3 separate regions of the Homo sapiens genome follow, and regions 1 and 2 are each linked to region 3. Evidence: promoter capture Hi-C in 16 types of primary human blood cells and fetal thymus (Javierre and others, 2016). All regions are on one chromosome and are shown on one strand. The core of a region is centred on a gene start or on the middle of the fragment in contact, and the rest is flanking DNA. Distances in the headings are between cores, read along the strand shown. Region 1 overlaps FAM186A (family with sequence similarity 186 member A). Region 2 overlaps FAM186A (family with sequence similarity 186 member A). Region 3 holds the start of COX14 (cytochrome c oxidase assembly factor COX14).

Region 1 (3,904 bases), core at 65-2,564, 220 kb before region 3:
GCAATAAGCCATGATTGCACCATTGCACCTCCAGCCTGGGCAACAAGATCGAAACTCCGTCTCAAAAAAAAAAAAGAAACTGAGGACAAGTTTGTTGAAGTAGGGTCTGCAACTATTATCGCTCTAATTTTTATTAATCTTTTCAAGGAACAACATAATGAAACGACTAAAAGCCATCCAAAATACTGGGAAAGGCTATGAGGCCAGGAACCTCCACATGATGCTGAGCAGACTTGATGACTACGGGAAAAAGGTGATGCAGGTCTGGACTGAGAAGCAGAAGTCTCTAGGGCAGAAACGGAATCAGTGCCTGAAGAAAATGATACACGTATTCAACCAGGTAACCTGCTTTCCACTCCCTCTGTCCAGCATGTTGTAAAAACATGAAAGTGGTAAGCTTTGTAAATGACATTTACCTGGAGACACCATGTCATATTACTTTCCTGGGCTGCTGTAACAAATTACCACAAACTTCATAGCTTAAAACAACAGAAATTTACTCTCTCACAGTTCTAGAGGCCAGAAGTTAGTGAAATCAGGGTGTCTGCCAGGTTGGTTCCTTCTAGAAGCTCTGAGAGGGCATTCTGTTGCATGCTTCTCTCCTAGATTGTGGTGGCTATGGGCAATCCTTAGCATTCCTCAGTTTGTAGCCACATAATTCCAATCTCCGCCTCCATCTTTCAAATGGCCTTTTTTTTTGTTTTGCTTTGTTTTTCGTTTTTTTGAGACAGTCTTGCTCTGTCTCCCAGGGAGTACAGTGGCACTATTTCGACTCGGTGCAAACTCCACCTCCTGGATTCAAGAGATTCTCCTGATTCAGCCTCCCGAGTAGATGGGATTACAGGCGCCCACCACCATGCCCAGCTAAATTTTATATTTTTAGTAGAGATGGGGTTTCACCATGTTGGCCAGGCTGGTTTCGAATTCCTGACCTCAGGTGATCCACCCGCCTCAACCTCCCAAAGTGTTGGGATTACAGGCGTGAGCCACCACGCCTGGCCTGAGTTCTTATAGTAAATATTACAAGCTGTGGTTCTAGAAACATTTTATATCTGTATATCCTTGTCTTTCCTTAAAATCGATTAATTTATAAGATTAGTTTACTTGCTACTTTGGAAGGTACAGAGAGGCTTCTCATCAGAGCCTAATCCAAGTCAAACATATATTGTAAATTTTCAGAACTGTTATATTTTATTTTATTATTTATTTATTTATTTATTTTTGAGATGAGGTCTCACTGTGTCACCCAGGCTGGAGTGCAGTGGCGTGATCTCGGCTCACTGCAACCTCCGCCTCCTGGGTTCAAGTGATTCTCCTGCCTCACCCTCCCGAGTAGTTGGGATTACAGGTGCCTGCCACCATGTCTGGTTAATTTTTGTATTTTTAGTAGAGATGGGGTTTCACCATGTTGGCCAGGCTGGTCTTGGACTCCTGACCTCAAGTGAACCGCCCATGGCAGCCTCCCAAAGTGCTGGGATAGAGGCTTGAGCCACCGTGCCCGGCCCAGAACAGTTATATTTTAAATATTACAGCTCTTTGTCAAAAAAATGAATATTCTCCTTTTTTTGATTTGGCAAATATGGCCAATGTACATAGAGTAAAGCAAGATGGGTTGGCAGCAACATGCGTTATCTAACAGGAATCACAATGCCTAGGGCATTTCAGAGGAGGAATAAGGGTCTGGGGCCAGGGAAGCCAGAATCCAGAGGATGAGGTATGGGTATCAAGGCTTGGAGAAAGGAGACAAAAAAAGCAAAAGGGATAAGAGGTTAGATATGAATGAATACTTTGCACTGAATCAGCATGGTGGTCAAGATGGCTAGCTCCGCTACCAGATTGTCTGGGTTCAAATCAGGCTAGCTACATACTAGCTAAGTGACTTTATGCAAGCCGCTTACATTTTCTGAGCCTCAGATTTTCCTGCTGTAAGACAAGGGTAATTATAAGACATACCGCATAAGGTTGTTATAAATACCAAATCAGCTAATATATGGAAAATGCTTAGTTCAGTGTCTGACATTCACTAAGTATTTAGTAAATGCTGGCTATCATTACAGTTGCATACTGCATCACAATTTATAAAGTGCTTCCATATATACTGTGTTTTACAATTCTCACAACCCTGTGTTATTATCCCTGTTTTAGAAATGAGGAGAAAGAAGTGCAGATAAATTAAGCAACTATCCCAAAGTCTCACAGCAAGAAAATAAGAGGACCAGGACTTAAGCTTAAGTAGGACAAAGGTTTTTATGTAGCAGAGCTGCCACCTCTAAAATGATGCATGTTGGAGGTGGGTGGAGTAGGGAGAGGATTTGCAAATCCATGGAAAAGGAGGAGTCACAGTTTAGTCTAGGGCCAGCTCTGAAGACCCTTCTAAAGATTCTGTCTCTTTTCATGGTTTCCTTTTTCTGATCTATTTTTTTTTATAGCTCAAAAAGATACATGAATTGAATCTTAGTCAACCTATCCCCTTAATCATCGAAGAAAAGCAGATACCTGCCTCTACCACATTTGTTCAAAAGCCATTCTTAAAATTACTAATGGAAGAGGACAGAACCTCTGACATATGCAAGAAATTTAGGTATGTGCTAGAAAGACTGATATTAAACTTTGGACGATATGTGGGACCTAATTTTTTTTTCCCTGCCCAAGAACTTCCCTTTCTCCACAATTATCAAATGGTGCAATGGAGAGTCTAAAGGAGTATTAGGCTGGGCGCGGTGGCTCATGCCTGTAATCCCAGCACTTTGGGAGGCCGAGGCAGGTGACTCATCTGAGGTCGGGAGTTCAAGACCAGCCTGACTAACATGGAGAAACCCCATCTCTACTAAAAAAAGTACAAAATTAGCCCGGCATAGTGGTGCATGCCTGTAATCCCAGCTAGTTGGGAGGCTGAGACAGGAGAATCGCTTGAACCTGGGTGGCAGAGGTTGCGGTGAGCCGAGATCGTGCCATTGCACTCCAGCCTGGGCAACAGCGAAACTCTGTCTCAAAAAAAAAGAGTATTAATTCCCTTAGCTAAATTGGCAAGAGGTTAATTTACATATATTTCTACTTAAATATTTAACATTGGATTGTGAGTTCCTCTAAAAATAAAGCTGATTCTTTCTTACTAAAAAACAAATTCTTTTAAGAATATTTAATAAAGAAACTTAGAAGCATTATCTTCTCTTTTTCTTCTATTTTTTTTTAAGGAGGCAGGAGCTTTGGGAAGGAAGGGGGCAAGTTATGTGGTCTCTCTACGCCATGAAGCTAAAATGGTAGTTTTAAAATGGATTACTAGGTGAAGCCATGCAAATGCAGCTTTGGTAACTCAGCGAATTCTGCTTTTTCATCCATCTCTCTGTCAAAGTGGGCATAGCTAATGCTGGTCAGTGCAAGGGGAAGGCATTATAGGACAAGGTGGCAGTGAAGAGGGGAGAATAAGATATATTTTGATGGGCTATGGAGCTCAGGAGAATTTGGCGTTCCCAATTTATGCTGATTCTGTAGGCAACAAGAGGACCAGACAGAGGCCATCTGGAATGTTGATCTGTCCACTTCAAGCTACCCAATAGCAGAGAAGACATCTATGCATTCACTCTGGGCCCAGCTGGGTGGGTACCCAGATATTCCCAGGCTGCTTCAGTTAGAAGTGCAGTCTACCTTCCGAAAATCTCTTGCATCCCTCCAATCACGGTAAGTTATGGACTGGAAGCACTCTGGTAATTGGGCCTTTGATCATATACCTTTTGGTTCCCTAACTTGACTTTCTCCTGTAGCACCAGGTACATCAACCAAAAGTAATGTTTGGTATGAGGTTAGACTCACACCAGTCATAAAATAGTACAGGTAAATTCAGCATTAGTCTGTTAGTGTTTCTAATCATAGGCCTATAGATGTCACCACTGAATAATGTAAAACA
Region 2 (3,537 bases), core at 53-2,552, 240 kb before region 3:
CCTCAGCAGGCCCAGGCCCTGGGGATCCCTCTCACCCCTCAGCAGGCGCAGGAACTGGGGATCCCTCTCACCCCTCAGCAGGCGCAGGAACTGGGGATCCCTCTCACCCCTCAGCAGGCGCAGGCTCAGGGGATCCCTCTCACCCCTCAGCAGGCCCAGGCTCTGGGGATCTCTCTCACCCCTCAGCAGGCGCAGGCTCAGGGGATCACTCTCACCCCTCAGCAGGCCCAGGCACTGGGAGTCCCCATCACCCCAGTAAATGCCTGGGTGTCAGCTGTCACTCTTACCTCTGAGCAAACCCACGCTTTGGAGTCCCCTATGAACTTAGAACAGGCTCAAGAACAGTTATTGAAGTTAGGGGTTCCTCTCACCTTAGATAAAGCCCATACCTTGGGATCGCCCCTCACCCTTAAGCAAGTCCAGTGGTCCCATAGACCATTTCAGAAATCGAAGGCTTCTCTCCCCACTGGGCAATCCATCATATCAAGATTGTCTCCAAGTCTTAGGCTGTCCCTGGCATCATCAGCTCCTACTGCTGAGAAGTCCTCTATATTCGGGGTCTCTTCTACTCCTTTGCAGATATCAAGGGTTCCCCTCAACCAAGGCCCCTTTGCCCCTGGGAAGCCCCTAGAAATGGGGATTCTTTCTGAGCCTGGGAAGCTTGGGGCACCACAGACTCTTCGTTCCTCTGGACAGACCCTGGTATACGGAGGTCAATCCACTTCTGCGCAGTTCCCGGCACCACAGGCCCCTCCCTCCCCTGGGCAGCTCCCAATATCTCGGGCCCCTCCCACTCCAGGGCAGCCCTTTATAGCTGGAGTTCCACCCACTTCTGGACAGATTCCAAGTCTCTGGGCTCCTCTTTCTCCTGGGCAGCCCTTAGTTCCTGAAGCCTCTTCCATCCCTGGGGACCTCCTGGAATCTGGACCCTTAACCTTCTCTGAGCAGCTCCAGGAATTCCAGCCTCCTGCCACTGCTGAGCAATCTCCCTATCTGCAGGCTCCTTCTACCCCTGGGCAGCATCTGGCAACATGGACCCTTCCTGGGCGAGCTTCTTCATTATGGATCCCTCCCACCTCTAGACATCCTCCCACACTATGGCCGTCCCCAGCCCCTGGAAAGCCCCAGAAAAGTTGGTCCCCTTCTGTTGCTAAGAAAAGATTGGCAATTATTTCTTCTCTGAAATCTAAATCAGTATTGATCCATCCTAGTGCTCCAGATTTCAAGGTAGCTCAAGTTCCTTTCACCACTAAGAAGTTCCAAATGTCGGAGGTCTCTGACACTTCCGAAGAAACCCAGATACTTCGAGACACTTTTGCTATAGAATCATTTAGAACATTTCAGTCCCATTTCACCAAATATAGGACACCAGTATACCAAACCCCTTACACTGATGAAAGGGCCCTTCTCACTCTCATGAAGCCAACAACATCACCATCTTCTCTCACTACTCTACTCAGAACATCACAGATTTCACCTTTGGAATGGTACCAGAAATCCCGATTCCCTCCTATAGACAAGCCCTGGATACTGAGTTCAGTTTCAGATACCAAGAAACCCAAAGTAATGGTGCCCCCTTCCTCTCCTCAAGAACTTGAAGAAAAGAGGTATTTTGTTGATGTGGAGGCTCAGAAGAAGAACCTGATACTATTAAATCAGGCTATAAAAACTTGTGGACTCCCTTCACAGCTACACACAATGGCTAGGACTCTCATAATTGAGATACTTCATATGGACACAGTTCAGTTGGGATACTTATTCCGCAAGTACATTGCCTATAGGCTGATCCAGCATGCCAGGTAGATATAATTATTTACGTCTAGTTTTCTGGTTTAGTTCTGATTGCAAATATTTTCTGTCATTGTCCCAGAAGTATATTCATATTTGTCAGGCCATATGTTCTAAAGGACTGCCTTATATAAGGTCTATGGGAAGGAAGCTTGTTTAAGATAGCAAAAGGAGATATATTTTTTGGAAAATAAGAAATGACATATAACGTGATCCATTTCATCCATATATATCTCCAGCGGAGATGCCAAGTATATTTTGTGGATCATGGTTGGTCTCCAAAACATCAATTTCAAAAGTTTCCAGTTATTCTGAATTTCTTTCATCATTTTTGGTTCACCAGAAATGTATGATTTTTAAAATGGGAGATGGCATAAAAAAAGAATGAGACCAGGCATAGTGTCTCATGCCTGTAATCCCAGCACTTTGGGAGGCTGAGGCAGGTGGATAACTTGAGGCCAGGAGTTCAAGACCAGCCTGGCCAACATGGCGAAATCCCATCTCTGCAAAAAATTCAAAAATTAGACAGGCATGGTTGCGTGCACCTGTAATCCCAGGATTACTTGGGAGGCTAGGGCAGGAGAATCGCTTGAACCCGGGAGGTGGAAGTTGCAATAAGCCGATCATGCCACTACACTCCAGCCTGGGTGAGAGAGTCAGCCTCTGTCTCAAAATAATAATAATAATAATAAAAAGAGATCCTGCCATTTGCAACAACATGAATGGAACTAGAGGTCATTATATTAAATGAAATAAGCTGAGCACAGAAAGACAAACTTCACATGCTCTCACTTATTTGTGGGAGCTAAAAATTAAAGCAATTGAACTAATGGACATAGAGTAGAAGGATGGGACAGGTGCAGTGACTCACGCCTGTAATCCCAGCACTTTGGAAGTCTGAGGGGGGAGGATCACTTGAGCCCAGGGGTTTGAGACAAGCCTGGACAACAAATTGAGACCCTGTCTCTACATGATGGTGCATGCCTGTAGTCCCAGCTACTCAGGAAGCTGAGCTTGGAGGATCACTCAAGCCCCAGGAGGTTGAGACTGCAGTAAACCAAGATCGCGCCACTGCACTCCAGCCTGGGTGACAGAGCAAGACCCAGTCTCAGGGAAAAAAAAAAGAGAAGGATGGTTACCATAGGCTAGAAAGGGTAGTGGGGGTGGGGGGAAAGTAGGGATGGTTAATGGGTACAAAAAAATAGAAAGAATGAATAAGATTTAGCATTTGAAAGCACAACAGGGTGATTATAGTCAATAATAATGTAATTGTACATTTAAAAATAACAGAGTATAATTGGATTATTGGATTGTTTGTAACACAAAGGATAAATGCTTGATGCAATGGATACCTCATTTACCTTAATATGATTATTACACATTGCATTCCTGTATCAAAACATCTCCTGTACCCCCAAAATATATATACCTACTATGTACCCACAAAAAAATTTTTTAATGAAAAGAAAAACAAACAAAAAAATGGCCACGCGTGGTTGCTCACATCTGTAATCACAGTACTTTGGGAGGCCGAGGCAGGTGGATCACGAGTTCATGAGTTCAAGACCAGCCTGGCCAATATGGTGAAACCCCATCTCTTCTAAACTACAAAAATTAGCCGGGCATGGTGGCACGTGCCTGGAATCCCAGCTACTTGGGAGGCTGGGCAGGAGAATTGCTTGAACCCAGGAGGCAGAGCTTGCAGTGAGCCGAGATTGAGCCGCTGGACTCCAGCCAGCGGGGCAGAGC
Region 3 (3,898 bases), core at 80-2,579:
TTGGGAGGCCGAGGCGGGTGGATCACGAGGTCAGGATATCGAGACCATCCTGGCTAACACAGTGAAACCCCATCTCTACTAAAAACACAAAAAATTAGCCGGGCGTGGTGGCGGGCACCTGTAGTCCCAGCTACTCTGGAGGCTGAGGCAGGAGAATGGCATGAACCCGGAAGGCGGAGCTTGTAGTGAGCCGAGATCCCGCCACGGGACCCCAGCCTGGGCGACAGAGCAAGACTCCGTCTCAAAAAAAAAAAAAAAAAATTGCGTAAACGTATGGGTAGAAGTGCGATTTTGTTACATGCATACACTGCATAGTGGTCAACTCAGGGCTTTTAAGGTATCCATCATCTTTTATCTACTTTTTGTTTGGCACTTAGAGAGTAGTACATCGGCCGGGTACGGTGGCTCACGCCGGTAATCCCAACACTTTGGGAGGCCGAGGCGGGAGGATGGCTTGAGCTCAGGAGTTGGAGACCAGGTTGGGCAACATAGGGAGACCTTTTCTCTATTTAAAAACAACAACAACAACAACAAAAAAAAAACCTTTTTTTAAAAATTACCCGGGCGTGGTGGCGCACACCTGCAGCCTGAGCGACAAAGCAAGACCCTGTCTCAAAATAACATAACATAACATAACATAACATAACATAACATAACGTACATCATGCTACGGAGGCCGCTAAAAAGAACATGGCTTCTGTCATACAGGAGCTTATGGTCTCATGGAGAGGCACTGTGAGAGTTCAGAGACAACAGCTCAAAGACAGGGTGGGGGCTTGAGAAAACTTAGCAGAAAGGTGTAGGGGTGGGAATCGGGGTGGGAGTGGAACTGTCTTTTTAGAAGGATGGCCTGGAGAAGAGGAGCAGTGAGAGCATTCCAGGAAGTGAAAGCGGTCAAGAGGTGGAGCTGGATAGCCGATATGCACGAAGGGTGCCCCGGAGAGCCACTTATCAGGACGCAGAGGTCTATAGAGCAAGGAAGAGGCAGAGTTGGAGCGTGGAGGGTCGAGACGCCAGGCAGGAGTCGAGGTTTGACAGGATTAGCGCTGAGCTCTAGCAAGACTGACCTACTGCTGCGAGGAGCTTGGGCTTGGGCAGGAAGCAGTGCAGCTCGCGGTCCGCAACGCAACAGAAGCGGGTGAATTCAAGGGCACCAGGCCTGCAGACTAGGGGATGGGAGGACGCGGCAAGCGGAGACTGGCCCAGGTGGGCGCGCAGGCAGTGGGACTGGCAGCCCCTGCTCGGCCCTAGCCGGCAGCGTACCTGGATGCTGCAGCTCCTTCGCATCCAACCGAGGCCTCCTCAGGCAGGCAGGGTCTCGAGGCCACTGTCTACGCAACTTCCCAGCACAGCCGAACGCAGCACTCGGAACCAGACACGTGAGGGTAGCGTCCCTGGACAACCCTGAACGCCTCAGCTATTGGTGCAGAAAGCAACTTTCTCCCTCCCACCTGCCGGGTTAGCCTCTAGGATTCGGCTTGCCGCGCTATAAAGGGAACTGCGCATCAGACGCGGCACAACTCCGCCCACTAAGGCGGGAGTCCGCGCAGGCCGTCACTCTGGCTGGAGGCCGGCTTTGAACTTCCGGCTTCCGGGCCCGTTATCCTTACTACGCATCCTCAGACGCGCCGTGCTCTCGGAGAGGCCCGCTGAATTCTGGGGGCTGTGGTTTCTCTCCCTCGAGGGAGGGTCTTTGGCGAGCCAAGCTCTGGAACCGGAAGTTTTAGGATGCTAAATCAGAGTCAGCCAATCCTCAGCCTACGGTGCGGTGACGTCGCCAGTAGCTGGGTAGATTTTCGCAGCCGGCCTTCTGGAGGTGGATCGCGCGCCCCCTAGAGCCCGGCTGTGGGCCTAGTCCAGGTAGGGGCCCGAGGGGCACCGCGATGCCTGGACCGCTAAGGATGCGGCAGCTTGGCCCGTGACCAAGGAATGGGCACAAGGGATGAGAGTCTAACGTTTCCGTCCCGTGTGTGATCTCTATTCTTGCAGGAGGCATGATAAAGCCCCTAAGAAGGGCCGGCAAGGCCGGGGCCAGCTTGCGGCGAGGGCGGGAGGGGGCGCTGGCGGGAGGGGAGAGAGAGGGATGGGGACTGAGTGGGCACCGCCGCTGACCCCTGGAGTAGCTGCGATTATGGAGGAGGGATTTCTTTTTTCATTTTTCCTACGGTAAGAGGGAAAACATACGTGCAATGATACGCGCCAGCACACGCACTGCCACATGCACTGAAGCTCCCTCTCCCAACTCTTCTTGTTTCTGGAAAAAACACGCTTTATTGGGTAGACAAATAGGCCTGATGGGAAGGCCTGAGTCACAGTGCACTGGGGAGTGAACAAAAGTAGGCAAAGTGCTTGAAGCTTCCCCTTTGCCCCCACCTTAACCTCCTGGGGAGGCAGCTCTGGACACTCAGTACCCAGACCTGGGCTCAGCAAGGCCTGGGGTGACTGTGCCCCTCACTCCTGCTGCCTGATCTGGGCAGCCCCACCCTTCACTGGTAAGACAGAATTCTCAAGGGATAGGCGCAGAGAGGAGCCCGCCTCCCTGGTTCATTGGAGAGTAACAGGGTTTTAGCATAATGCTGGCCAGAGCCAGTGTGCCAGGTGCTGCCACACAGGAAGCTGACAGCCCTGCTGGACGGGCGGGAGCCTCTCGGGCCCTCCGGACTATTTATAGCTGGAGGCCTAGGCTGCTGACCTGTGACATTCCTCTGCTGCCACCCCATCCTGGAGCAAGGCAAGTGCAGAGCACACTCCTCCTCCTCCCCTCCTGTTCTTTCCTCACCCCAGGGAGTAGGGTGGTTTTGATTTTCTTCCTCCTCCTTGAGTTTCCCAGCTCTCGAGTTGCTGGTGTTGTCAGTACCTCACGAGAAGGCCCTCATTCAGCAAAGAGAGCTGCCCTTGGAATATTGGTGCCCACCAACATAGGAATCTGCTCACCCTTCCCTACCGTTCATCAGCCTTTGGGCCACCCTCTGGCCTGCTGGCTTCCAGATGCCAGGCATGGTTAGCTGGTTACCCTGGCCGGTCTGGAGCAGCTGAGGAAGAGGTGCAGAGTTTGGGAGGAAGAAAGGGGTGGAGTCAGGGATGTCCTCTGGGGAGATAGCACAGGAGGGGCCCAGCTGACACCTCCCCCAGCTAGAGCTACTGAGAAGGAAGCCTGGGTGAATACAAAGGTCACAGGGAGCTGAGTGATCTGAGCCTGTTATGAAAGGTGTAGCTCTGTCAGCAGATTAAGTTCCTGCTCCCCAAAGAGGGTGCTGGCGGGGAGGGTGAGGGAAGGCTTGGAAAGGTCGCACAGAGTGGGGAGGAGCTGGCAAAGAACTAGGAACCGGGAAGTCCCTGGGGAGAATGTCAAGCCACCGAGCTACAGATGCCAGCATGGCAGCAATTTGGGTGCCAGGGCAGCCTGGGGGAGGGGGAAGGGGGAGAACCAGAGGTTTCTGAGGACACAGATGTTGCTAGGAGAAGCTAAAAGGGGTTTGTTTGAGATCTTTGTATTTTGTTAACAAACACTGAGATCCATCGAAGCTGTGTGGGTCCTGGCAGAGGTCAGCAAAGGGGTCCTTGGGGCCTGCATCAGCTCAGAAGCCCAGACCCCTCCCTGACAATCCTTGCCTCATCGCTCCTGTGGCTAAGATACTTCTTCAGCCCTTTAACAGGATTACTGGTGTATGTGAGACAGCCACTAGCAGCCCCTGCCCTACCGGCCTCTCCCCCAACCCTTCTCCACATACATCACCCCCGCCACCAAGCAGGCAGCACTGGGGCTTGATTCCACCCCTCCCAGAGGATATGGAGAAAGCCCCACATCTGGAGAGGGACAGGGCAACTGCATTTCTGGCAAATGTGGTGGCATGAGGCTGCCAGTGGCTTGACAGTTCAGGATCTCCAGGTGCGTAGC

Evidence for each region. Contacts are between HindIII fragments. The CHiCAGO score rates a contact against its expected background, and 5 or more counts as called.
Region 1: a contact is called between a fragment that was not itself captured here and the fragment with the promoter of COX14 in region 3, in 1 of 17 cell types (endothelial precursors). The highest score is 7.8, in endothelial precursors.
Region 2: a fragment that was not itself captured here is called in contact with the fragment with the promoter of COX14 in region 3 in 1 of 17 cell types (endothelial precursors); the score reaches 5.8 in endothelial precursors.

The regions. Positions count from the first base shown.
Region 1 is chr12:50,330,347-50,334,250 of GRCh38, reverse strand. FAM186A (family with sequence similarity 186 member A) reads left to right here. Exons shown (of 8, transcript NM_001145475.3): 5 at 148-340; 6 at 2,430-2,581; 7 at 3,493-3,678. Among named protein-coding and RNA genes, the nearest start is that of LIMA1, 49 kb to the right of the region's middle. The HindIII fragment of the contact is 1,830 bases long and covers 400-2,229 here.
Region 2 is chr12:50,348,591-50,352,127 of GRCh38, reverse strand. FAM186A (family with sequence similarity 186 member A) reads left to right here. Exons shown (of 8, transcript NM_001145475.3): 4 at 1-1,799. Among named protein-coding and RNA genes, the nearest start is that of FAM186A, 46 kb to the left of the region's middle. The HindIII fragment of the contact is 1,279 bases long and covers 663-1,941 here.
Region 3 is chr12:50,109,667-50,113,564 of GRCh38, reverse strand. COX14 (cytochrome c oxidase assembly factor COX14) reads right to left here and starts at 1,329. Exons shown (of 2, transcript NM_032901.4): 1 at 1,264-1,329. It overlaps GPD1 (glycerol-3-phosphate dehydrogenase 1), which reads right to left. Exons shown (of 8, transcript NM_005276.4): 8 at 2,252-3,898. RefSeq lists enhancers at 1,000-1,049, 1,060-1,299, 1,520-1,779, 1,840-1,889. The HindIII fragment of the contact is 7,994 bases long and covers 1-2,357 here.